Regions from separate parts of the Homo sapiens genome. Here region 2 is linked to region 1. Evidence: promoter capture Hi-C in 16 types of primary human blood cells and fetal thymus (Javierre and others, 2016). All regions are on one chromosome and are shown on one strand. The core of a region is centred on a gene start or on the middle of the fragment in contact, and the rest is flanking DNA. Distances in the headings are between cores, read along the strand shown. Region 1 holds the start of VAMP3 (vesicle associated membrane protein 3). Region 2 overlaps DNAJC11 (DnaJ heat shock protein family (Hsp40) member C11).

Region 1 (4,659 bases), core at 1,190-3,689:
TTATGAGCAGGTTTCTATCACAGGAAAACAAGCGTGAAACCTAGAAAGTCTGACTTTTGCTTAGATTAGATCTTCCAGCACAGCAGGGAGCAAAGTTTCGTTACAATTATGATACAGTCAGAATTTGCTTTACATTCACACTTTGATGATACTTTTTCTAAACAGATTTCCAGAGTACTCATATTTGTTTAAAATTCATATTTCCAACATTTCAGAGCAATACCTCATCTACTTGATTTTGTGTCTGCTGAAGTCTTCGATTACTGCCAGTGGCAGCAGTTGGACCTGTAGACCTGGAACATGTAAAGGCATGAGCATGAGTACATTACGATTCCAAATACATTTTCTTAAGTATAAAGATGTTACTCCGGGACTCTCACTGTTAACAATCTCTTACATTAGAACTAAAACAGAAAAAGAAATTCTTCCTGAAGCAATGAACGAAAGTTTTAATTGCATTTCTTCTAATTTCTCTATAATTTCCAAGACTGTCCCACCTACTAAAGGGACAAATGTTAAGCTTTAATAGGACCTACTTTGTATCCCTGAAGTATCTGATCCCACGATAGGTAAGCTCTACTGTCCTTTTTTGAAACTTGTTCTAAGGCACACATCTGCTTGAATGTACTCAGTACTTTCCTGATCTTTTCATTGTGGAAGGAACTGTTTTCATAGTTACAAACAGTTACAGAATGCCCTTTTTCCAATATGGAAAAATAGATTAATTTACAGAAACAGAGTCAGGAACACTGGGATGCAGGGAGTGGGTGGTGTGAGTGGAAAGGTGTGTTGAAGAAATGCCTCCTCTTTTAGGAAGGTACTCTTTCTTTTTCCCCCTCTTTTGAGAGACGGAGTTTCGCTCCTGTTGCCCGGGCTGGAGTGCAATGGCGCGATCTCGGCTCACTGTAACCTCCGCTTCCTGGGTCCAAGCAATTCTCTTGCCTCAGTCTCCCAAGCAGCTGGGATTACAGGCATGTGCCACCACGCCCGGCTAATTTTGTATTTTTTAGTAGAGACGGGGTTTCACCATGTTGGTCAAGCTGGTCTCGAACTCCTGACCTCAAGTGATCCGTCCACCTCGGCCTCCCAAAGTGCTGGGATTACAGGCATGAGCCACCGCGCCCGGCCCAGGAAGGTACTCATCTTTTAAAATCTTCATCAAAGGCTTTATTTCTCCCCATGCAGATCTTTCTTAACCACTCTGACTCTGAAGTCATTATTGGCTCCATTACTTGGAAAGTATCACTTTGGTTTTTCAGGTATAAAGTCCCGCCTCCTCGAATAGATCACAGGTTCCTGGGTCTTCTTACTCTCTTCTCTGTATCCTAGATAGCACCTAGCATGTGCCTTGGTATACAACAGTCTGATGGGCTGTTTGAACAGTCACTTTACATCTGTCATGTGTCAATGACCAGGGCTACAACAGATCTCATCACCGTCCTCACGGAGTTTAGTATCTGGTAGATAAGTAAGGACCATGCCGTGGCGCTAGACTCTTTCCATGCTTTTCCTCCTTTAACCCTCATAACTCTCTGAGGGGAATATTACTCCTATTTTACAAATGAGTAAAGTGAGGTTTAGAGAGTCAACACAGCTGGCTGCAGGACAGCTTGTTTTTAGATCAGGTCCTGTGTACCTTGGCTCTAGATCTTAACCACTGTGATCTATTGGCACAGCAGCCTCAGCAGGAACATTCGAGGGGGGTCCCCAGCTCCTGGAAGAAACCCGGGGCTTCCTCCGACGGTGAGCAATGAGCAGAATGGAGGTGGAAGAGGGAGTCCTTGTGATTCTTAACCATTAGCATTCTCTGAGTCTTACCACTGGAAGCAGGGGTTTGCAACGTGCTTTCGCTTAAGAGAGCGAAGGCCCACGGTTAAGTGATCTTTCCAGTGCAGATGCCCCTAGCTAGGCAAGGAGCTCTTCGGCCCACAGGGGCTCAGGACAGGGCCGAGGTCCTTTCTTTCGCAACTTCTGGGGCCCAGCGCAGCACCGGGCCGAGAGCGGGCGCTCCCGAACCAGGGCTGTCGTCCCCATTCCTCTCAGGGACGTCGGGGACTAGAAAGGGAAGGGGCGAGGAGCGGGCTGCGGGCGGGCAGCTCACTTCCTCCGGGAAGCGTCTCGCCGCCCCGCCCTTGCCCCTTCCGCGTCCGCCCGATGGCCGCGGGACCCGCCCGGCCCGTCTGCAGCCCGCGACCCAAGGGCCACCGCCCACCCCCAGGCCTCGGGATCCCCGCGCAGCCCCGGCCTGCGTCCGAGTGGCGGCCGGCGGCAACTGGGCAGTATGGCGGTCCCAGCGCGAGCTGCCGCCTGCGGGGCCCGAAGCCGCCCGCGTCGCGTAGCGTCACTCACATTTTGGCAGCTGCGGCGGCGGCAGCGGCGACGAGAGAGGGTCAGCAGAGAAGCGAAGTTGGGACCGGAGGCCAGGGAGATGGGTGGGACGGCGCGGCGCGGGGCAAAGACGTCACTAGGCGGAGCCGGGGGAGTGGGCGGGGCGAAGAGGGGGCGCGCCGGAAGTGGGCGGGGGCGTCGTGGGTGGGTGCGTCCAGGGCGGGGTCAGAGCGAGACGTCCCCTCCCCGGACGAGGTCACTTGGGAACTTGAGGGCCACAGGGGTCCCAGGGCGGTCCGGGCTCTGAAACGCAGAACGCAGGTCAATACAGCTCCCTGTCCGCACCGCCGTCCGCGCTGGCGCTTGGGGACGTGGTCTGTAAACGTGGTGCATTAGCCACTGGCGAGGGACTGCGTGGATAAGTGAGGGTGGGGGCAATTCATGTTATTCTGGGCTCGGGACCATTTCTAACAGTATTAGAGACAGATGACTGGCTTCTGCTGAGTGTTCCAGAGTAACCTAGTGATCCTGAGGGCACCATGTTTCTCTAAAGTAGTTGAAATAGGAAGTCCATTTCGGGTATTTGTCACATGGTGTTGGGTGAGGTTCCCGCTCATGTTTTCATCGGTGACACAAATATTTGTCACTGCAGATCATATTATAATCTGCTTACGAGAGCCTTGGCATCAAGGCTGTAGTTCCTTTATTTCTGTATTTTCAGGCCCTAGCACAGAATAGGTCCTCAGGTTTTGGTCGAAGGGAGGGAAGCACAAATCTGAACGCAGTGAGTTACCTTGTATATATTTGTTACTGAAATATTCCTACCAACATAGTTACCTACACCAAAAAATAAAACACTAATAGGTCATTGGTGGGTCTCTTAGATGAGAAGTGAAAAATACAGTACTTAAATACTATGCTGTTTTTTCCAACTCTAAATAGAATACTTTGAAAAGGGAAACGTTAGTATATATCGAATAAACGAGTGTCACAAAGGCGGTGGGATTTGAGCTGGGTACTAGTGGAAAAGAACTTTCCAAGTAAGGGTTGGGCAAACACCATGAACAAAGACAGCAGTGAAAATGGACGCAGTGTGCACAGACCACCTAGAGGGTGCAGGTTGGGTACAAGTGAAAAGAAGACTGAATAAAGAGGATAAACAAACAAGAAAAATGTCATTTAATTGTAGTGGGCCCTGGAAACCATTGACTTACGGACGTGGGAGATCCATGATGCAAAATTTCTCTGGCAGTAGTGGCCAGATGGATTAGATGGAAGAGGGAGCACTAGGGAGATAAGGAGAGGCTCTGCAGTGAACGGGAAGGGAGCGGCGATGACACAATACTCAGAAAGGACGACGTTCGTAATCTGCTGGAAAATGCCTTTTAGAAGACTTTAGAGGATTGTAACTGAAAAGGTGAATTAAATTAATGTCTTTATCTTTCAAATAATTGCACTGCCTTACACAAATGATTGACATGTTGAGAGGTGCCTGGAAAGATAGGGGAAAAGCTCTCTGAATGGTGGCTGGAAGACATTTTTTCTTTCATGGACCTAGCTGAAACAATGTAACATTCAATGTCAAAACATTACATCTGGATCAGAAGGAAATCCTTGACATTATTACATATGTTTTGAAACATGTGCCCATCACCTTAGATTTCACTACCCGGTCATATTAAAGCAAAACACACACGTAGTATGGGGAAATTTTCTTCATTTTTAATTTACAGCAGAAAGAATATAAAGCATTCAGAAAACATTTTCCATATTTTAAGGGCAATTCAAAACATTTTGCATGGTTTCCAGCAGCTGAGTTCTTCAACAGATCCATTGATTCAATGATGCTTTACATGCACAATTACAAAAATAAAACTTACAAAAAAAGAAGACATCTAGACTAGTTTTACATGCAAGTCTCAGGGACCCCCCATTGGGCGCCAACTACTGTGTGGAACTGCCATAAGCGACCGTGCAGCCAGAGAGGGGTTCGTATTATTGTCTTTATTTCGTTCACACAGTACAGCTGATTTCGAATGGGTAACAATAGCAATTAAATCTTCAGGAGATAGAATAAGATTAGCTATTAATTTTATAATGAAATCCTACTCCTGGCACTTGGGAATTCAGATTATCCAAGAAAGCTGCGCTTACCTATCATCTTATATTCGAAATTAAGATTCATAACCAAGAAAAAGCGGTCAGAAATGCTTCGTTTCAGTGGAAGTGCATTTTTGCCTCGCCTAGGATTCACAGTTGTACTGGTAGGTTACACTGGTAGGCTTTAAACCTACTTCCTATCCCCTCCATGAGAACCCTCTTAATTCTATG
Region 2 (4,659 bases), core at 951-3,450, 1.1 Mb after region 1:
AGTAAGTAGAAAATGAGAGACCGGGCGAGGTAATAGACAGAGTCTCAATTGCAAGGGAATACTCAAGTTTTAAATCGTTTACCAGTTTTCTTCTAAAGGGAACTCTTATAGGTAAAAGGCTGATCGTTACAGGGAAGGTTTCTTTGTTCTCTTTTTTGTTAGAAGATACAAGGACATTTTTTCATCCAAAAGTGATTTTATTGGTTCTGAAGCAGTTATCGGTTGTAATAAAAGAAAGAAAATGATGTTAAGAAGGCTTATAGGAAATAGAACCAAGTGATTCACATTTTTATACTTATGTCTTATGTATGTCAGAAAGAACATTCTGTGATATATTTGTTTATAAAATATTAAAGTCACTACCAGATACAGAGCTTCTGTCTGGGATGGCAAAAAGTTCTGGAAATAGAGAGTGATGATGGTTACACAACATTGTAAATGTACTTCATGCTATTGAATTGTATACTTTAAAATGGTTAAAATGGTAAATATTATATGTATATTTTACCACCATTTTTAAAATTTAAATTAAAAAAAATGTTAAATCACTGTTATATACATCAACTACAATAAGTTATTTGTTCCAGAACCATCTGGTGATTTGCTCCTTAGACCAAAAATTAGATAATATGTTTCTTTATAAAATCATAAAGTCATCTCACTGTATACATAATAGCTTGTAGTGTTTTTCACTTTATAGTTTTACCAAAAAGTTAGATTTTAATGGCCAGTGAAAATCAGGCTGCAGTGTGTGATAAATGTGTACAGTCGGTGTAGTGTCATTACCAAATTTAACTGTATTCAGATCATTTGCATGGCGGTTGTGAAGAGTAGCCTGTTCTTTTTATTGTATTCTGTTATCTAAATGGGTGCATTAATTTTACTGTTGTCTAAATTAGCCACATAGTTTGCTTGTATTGTGTTGGAGACCTGGGGAAGAGTTAAAGAAAAACCCTACCAGTGCTAGTGAAAGTGCCACAACAGCAGACCTGGCCTCATGTTTAGCTTAAAGGGAGACTCAGGTAAAATAGTGAATGAATAATTCCTTATTAAATGCTGGAGAGGAACACAAGTTTGGCTCCTGTGTTTTCCAGGGGCCAGCATTTCTTCCTTTCCCGTTAGATTTGATTATGCATAGTATCATTTATGTGGTTTTTAAATTAGGCCTACAAATATATGGGAACTGTCAGGGGAGAAGAGACCCAAAGGTCTTGGCAGAAATTGGTGAAGCAGAGGGGGAAGAGAACAACCATTGGCCTTGCTGACATTTGAGTTCAGTTGGGATATCGTTCAGTTGGGATATCGTTTGAACAGCCCTCACCGTTAGCTGAGAAATCCTTTTCTGATGTATTTTGGGTGATGTGGCCAACAACATGATAAGAGATGTTTTTGTCTTTTAAAATTATTTACAAATAGAGAGGAGAAGTGCACAAAAGAAATGTAGCCTGTCTTTGGAGTTAACAGAACTCTATAGAGTAAATAACAAATCAGCTTTTTCTAGTATCTGAGCCTGTTTCTACTTTTATAGCAAGCTTCTTTAGAAACTGGAACCCACTCTTTCAAGTCAGTGTACTTTTATACACCGTGGCAGAAATTTACCAAATTATCTTAAAAACAACGTTCATGTCCTTTCCCAATGCAGGAGCCCGTGCCACTTCCTGCATGGTGCACCTTGTACACCTTGTAGCTGTACCTTCCAATCAAGAGTAACTTGGACACTGGAAAATCTGACTTTTCTCATTTGTAGCCGCCTTTAAACATATCCTACATTAGCTGGGTGCAGTGGCTCACACCTGTAATCCCAACACTTTGCAAGGCCAAGGCAAGAGAATCATTTAAGGCCAGGAATTCGAGATCAGCCTAGGCAACATAGTGAGACCCCATCTCTACAAAAAATAAATTAGCTGGGCATGGTGGCACACACCTGTAATCCCAGCTGCTTGGGAAGCTAGAGCAGGAGGATTAGTTAAGCCCAGGAATTCAAGGCTGCAGTGAGCTATGATCTTACCATTGCACTCCAGCCAGGACAACAGAGAAGGACCCTGTCAGTCAATAAGTCAATAAACAAATCCTAGGTTGAATCGAAAAAGCAGTTGGGAGGAAAGATGTGTAGAAAATGAAAGGGGTCTCTAGGAAGATTGTGATCAGACAGGGAGAACAGGAGATGGGCTTACCTAATGATGTCAGTATTCTCAGGAAGGACTGAAGGTGAATTTTGTATTTTATAAACATGTTTAATTTTTAATTTGCAGTGCTTAGTGACCCCCAAACCAGGGCCATCTATGATATATATGGGAAGAGAGGACTGGAAATGGAAGGATGGGAGGTAAGAGAAACTGTGCGTCTGGTGTTCCAGAAAAGTCATTAAACAGTTACAGAACATCTCCCCAAAACCCTGCAATCTGTAATATTGTCTTTGGGAATATTTGAAACCATTAGAGCCCCCTTCCTTGCCCTGTATTTTTGTTTTAGAGGTTGAGTTTTGGACTTGGCTTTGCCACTTTGTAACTCTGAACTTGGGCCAGCCACTCATCTGACTTGTCCTTCGTTCCCTAACCTGTCAAGTAAAACGGAAGAGGGATGGACCGAACCAGTAATTTTTAACCCAGGTGTGGGGCGGGAGCAAGCGGAGCAGGGGGTTGATGGGAGACGATTTCTTCAAGGGTGCAGTTCTGTCTCCATATACACTCCCTTCCACCCTCCACAGTTCTGTGCCTCTCTCTCCACCTCAGTTCTGAATAATTGCTGTGAGGAAATATTTCAGATGGGAGTATGTTATGCACGTGAGCAAAATGGAAGCAGAGTTGCTGGGGTTGCATTGCCTGTAATGACCCTTTCAATTCTCATGTATTATAATATTCAAGCTTTGTCAAATGTGATGAGTGAAACAAAATATATAGCAAATGTGTCGCCCTGGGCAGCCATGCTGTGGGAGAGCAGTCACTAAAATCCAGACAATTTGTTTGCTTTCACACTGCCACTGACTAGCAGTAGAGTCTTGGGCAAGTCATTGGGCTACTAGTGCTTCCATGTTACTATCTGAAAAATGAATATGAAGATTAGTTGTGAAACCCTTAAGTTGCTACAGGGATATATAGGTATCATTAAAGAAACTTTGTTCTGACCCAGGCAAAGTGGCTCACACCTGTAATCCTAACACTCTGGGGAGCCAGGCTGGGAGGATCACATGAGGCCAGGAGTTCGAGACCAGCCTGAGAAACATAGCAAGACCCTGTCTCTACAAAACATTTTTTTAAAAATTAGTCGGGCTTGGTGGCGCACACCTGTATTCCCAGCTATTCAGGAGGCTGAGATGGGAGAATCACTTGAGCACAGGAGGTTGAGGCTGCAGTGAGCTATGATCACGCCACTACACTCTAACGTGGGCAACAGAGCAAGACCCTGTCTCACAAAAAAAAGAAAGAAACTTGGTTCTGATGCCCAATAAATTTTGCTAGTCTGTTTAATAACATTGAATTGACCCTCGTTGAGTTATATTTTCACCATCATGTAAGATTACCCTTGAAGTTCCTTCGTTTTTTTTGTTTTTTTTTTTTTTTTGAGACCAAGTTTTGCTCTTGTTGCCCAGGCTGGAGTGCAGTGGCGCAATCTTGGCTCACTGCAACAAGTGATTCTCCTGCCTCAGCCTTCCTGAGTAGCTGGGATTACAAGGCATGCGCCACTACACCCAGCTAATTTTGTATTTGTAGTAGAGACAGGGTTTCTCCATGTTGGTCAGGCTGGTCTCGAACTCCTGACCTCAGACGATCCACCCACCTCGGCCTCCCAAAGTGCTGGGATTACAGGCATGAGCCACCACACCTGGCCAAAGTTCATTCAATGTTTAGTCTCAAGCATGCGTGCCTGTCTCTTCCAGTTCTGGCATCAAAGCCTTGTAAAGGCCTTCAGATGAGGAGTGGAAGAAAAGCAAAAGAGGATCCTATTTCCTTTCCTGCCTTTCCACTACTGCTTCATATTGGTGGCTCATGGGCCATATTCCACTAATAGCCTTTTTTGGTGTGTGTGTGTGTTTGTGAGAGAGAGTGCGCGCGTGCTCTGTCGCCCAGGCTGCAGTGTGTTGGTGCCATCATGGCTCACTGCACCCTCGACCTCCCAGGCTCAAGTGAGTCTCCTACCTCAGCCTCCCAAGTAGCTGCGACTACAGGCACACACCACCATGCCTAGCTAATTTTTAAATTTTTTGTAGAGATGGGGTCTTTCTATGTTGCCCAGGCTGGTCTCAAACTCCTAGCCTGAAGCTACCCTCCCCCCTCAGCCTCCCAAAGCGCCGGGATTACAGGTGTGAGCCACCGCACCCAGCCTGTTGCCATTTTTTGATTGCCTCACACAGTGAATTCTAGTTGCTAACATTTCAACCCTGGGAGGTTCTGCATGATAATTCAGTCTTCTGTCTTTTCTTGAAACATCTGAAGATCTGGTAACAGTGGATCTGAGGAGCCCTTGCCCTTCAGATGGGGCTGGGCTGTCCAATTTGTCCCAGTCCCCACCACTCCCCCTTGCGTTATGTCTGGCTCTTCTCATCTGCATGTCCTCCTGGCTCCAGTGGGCAGTTGGTATTTGGCCTCTGGCTTGATGGGAATAGCAGTGCTTCCTGTCACATTGGTTCATTGCAGCTAGGTATTAAGCCAAATAACTTAG

What was found. Contacts are between HindIII fragments. The CHiCAGO score rates a contact against its expected background, and 5 or more counts as called.
Region 2: a contact is called between a fragment that was not itself captured here and the fragment with the promoter of VAMP3 in region 1, in 1 of 17 cell types (endothelial precursors). The highest score is 6.4, in endothelial precursors.

What each region holds. Positions count from the first base shown.
Region 1 is chr1:7,769,076-7,773,734 of GRCh38, reverse strand. It overlaps VAMP3 (vesicle associated membrane protein 3), which reads right to left and starts at 2,439. Exons shown (of 5, transcript NM_004781.4): 1 at 2,350-2,439; 2 at 224-293. The coding sequence starts at 2,351. It overlaps CAMTA1 (calmodulin binding transcription activator 1), which reads right to left. Exons shown (of 23, transcript NM_015215.4): 23 at 4,029-4,659. RefSeq lists silencers at 2,076-2,305, 2,270-2,512 and enhancers at 2,746-2,795, 2,539-3,235. The HindIII fragment of the contact is 4,711 bases long and covers 523-4,659 here.
Region 2 is chr1:6,676,061-6,680,719 of GRCh38, reverse strand. It overlaps DNAJC11 (DnaJ heat shock protein family (Hsp40) member C11), which reads left to right. Exons shown (of 16, transcript NM_018198.4): 3 at 2,253-2,326. Among named protein-coding and RNA genes, the nearest start is that of DNAJC11, 23 kb to the left of the region's middle. The HindIII fragment of the contact is 1,332 bases long and covers 1,535-2,866 here.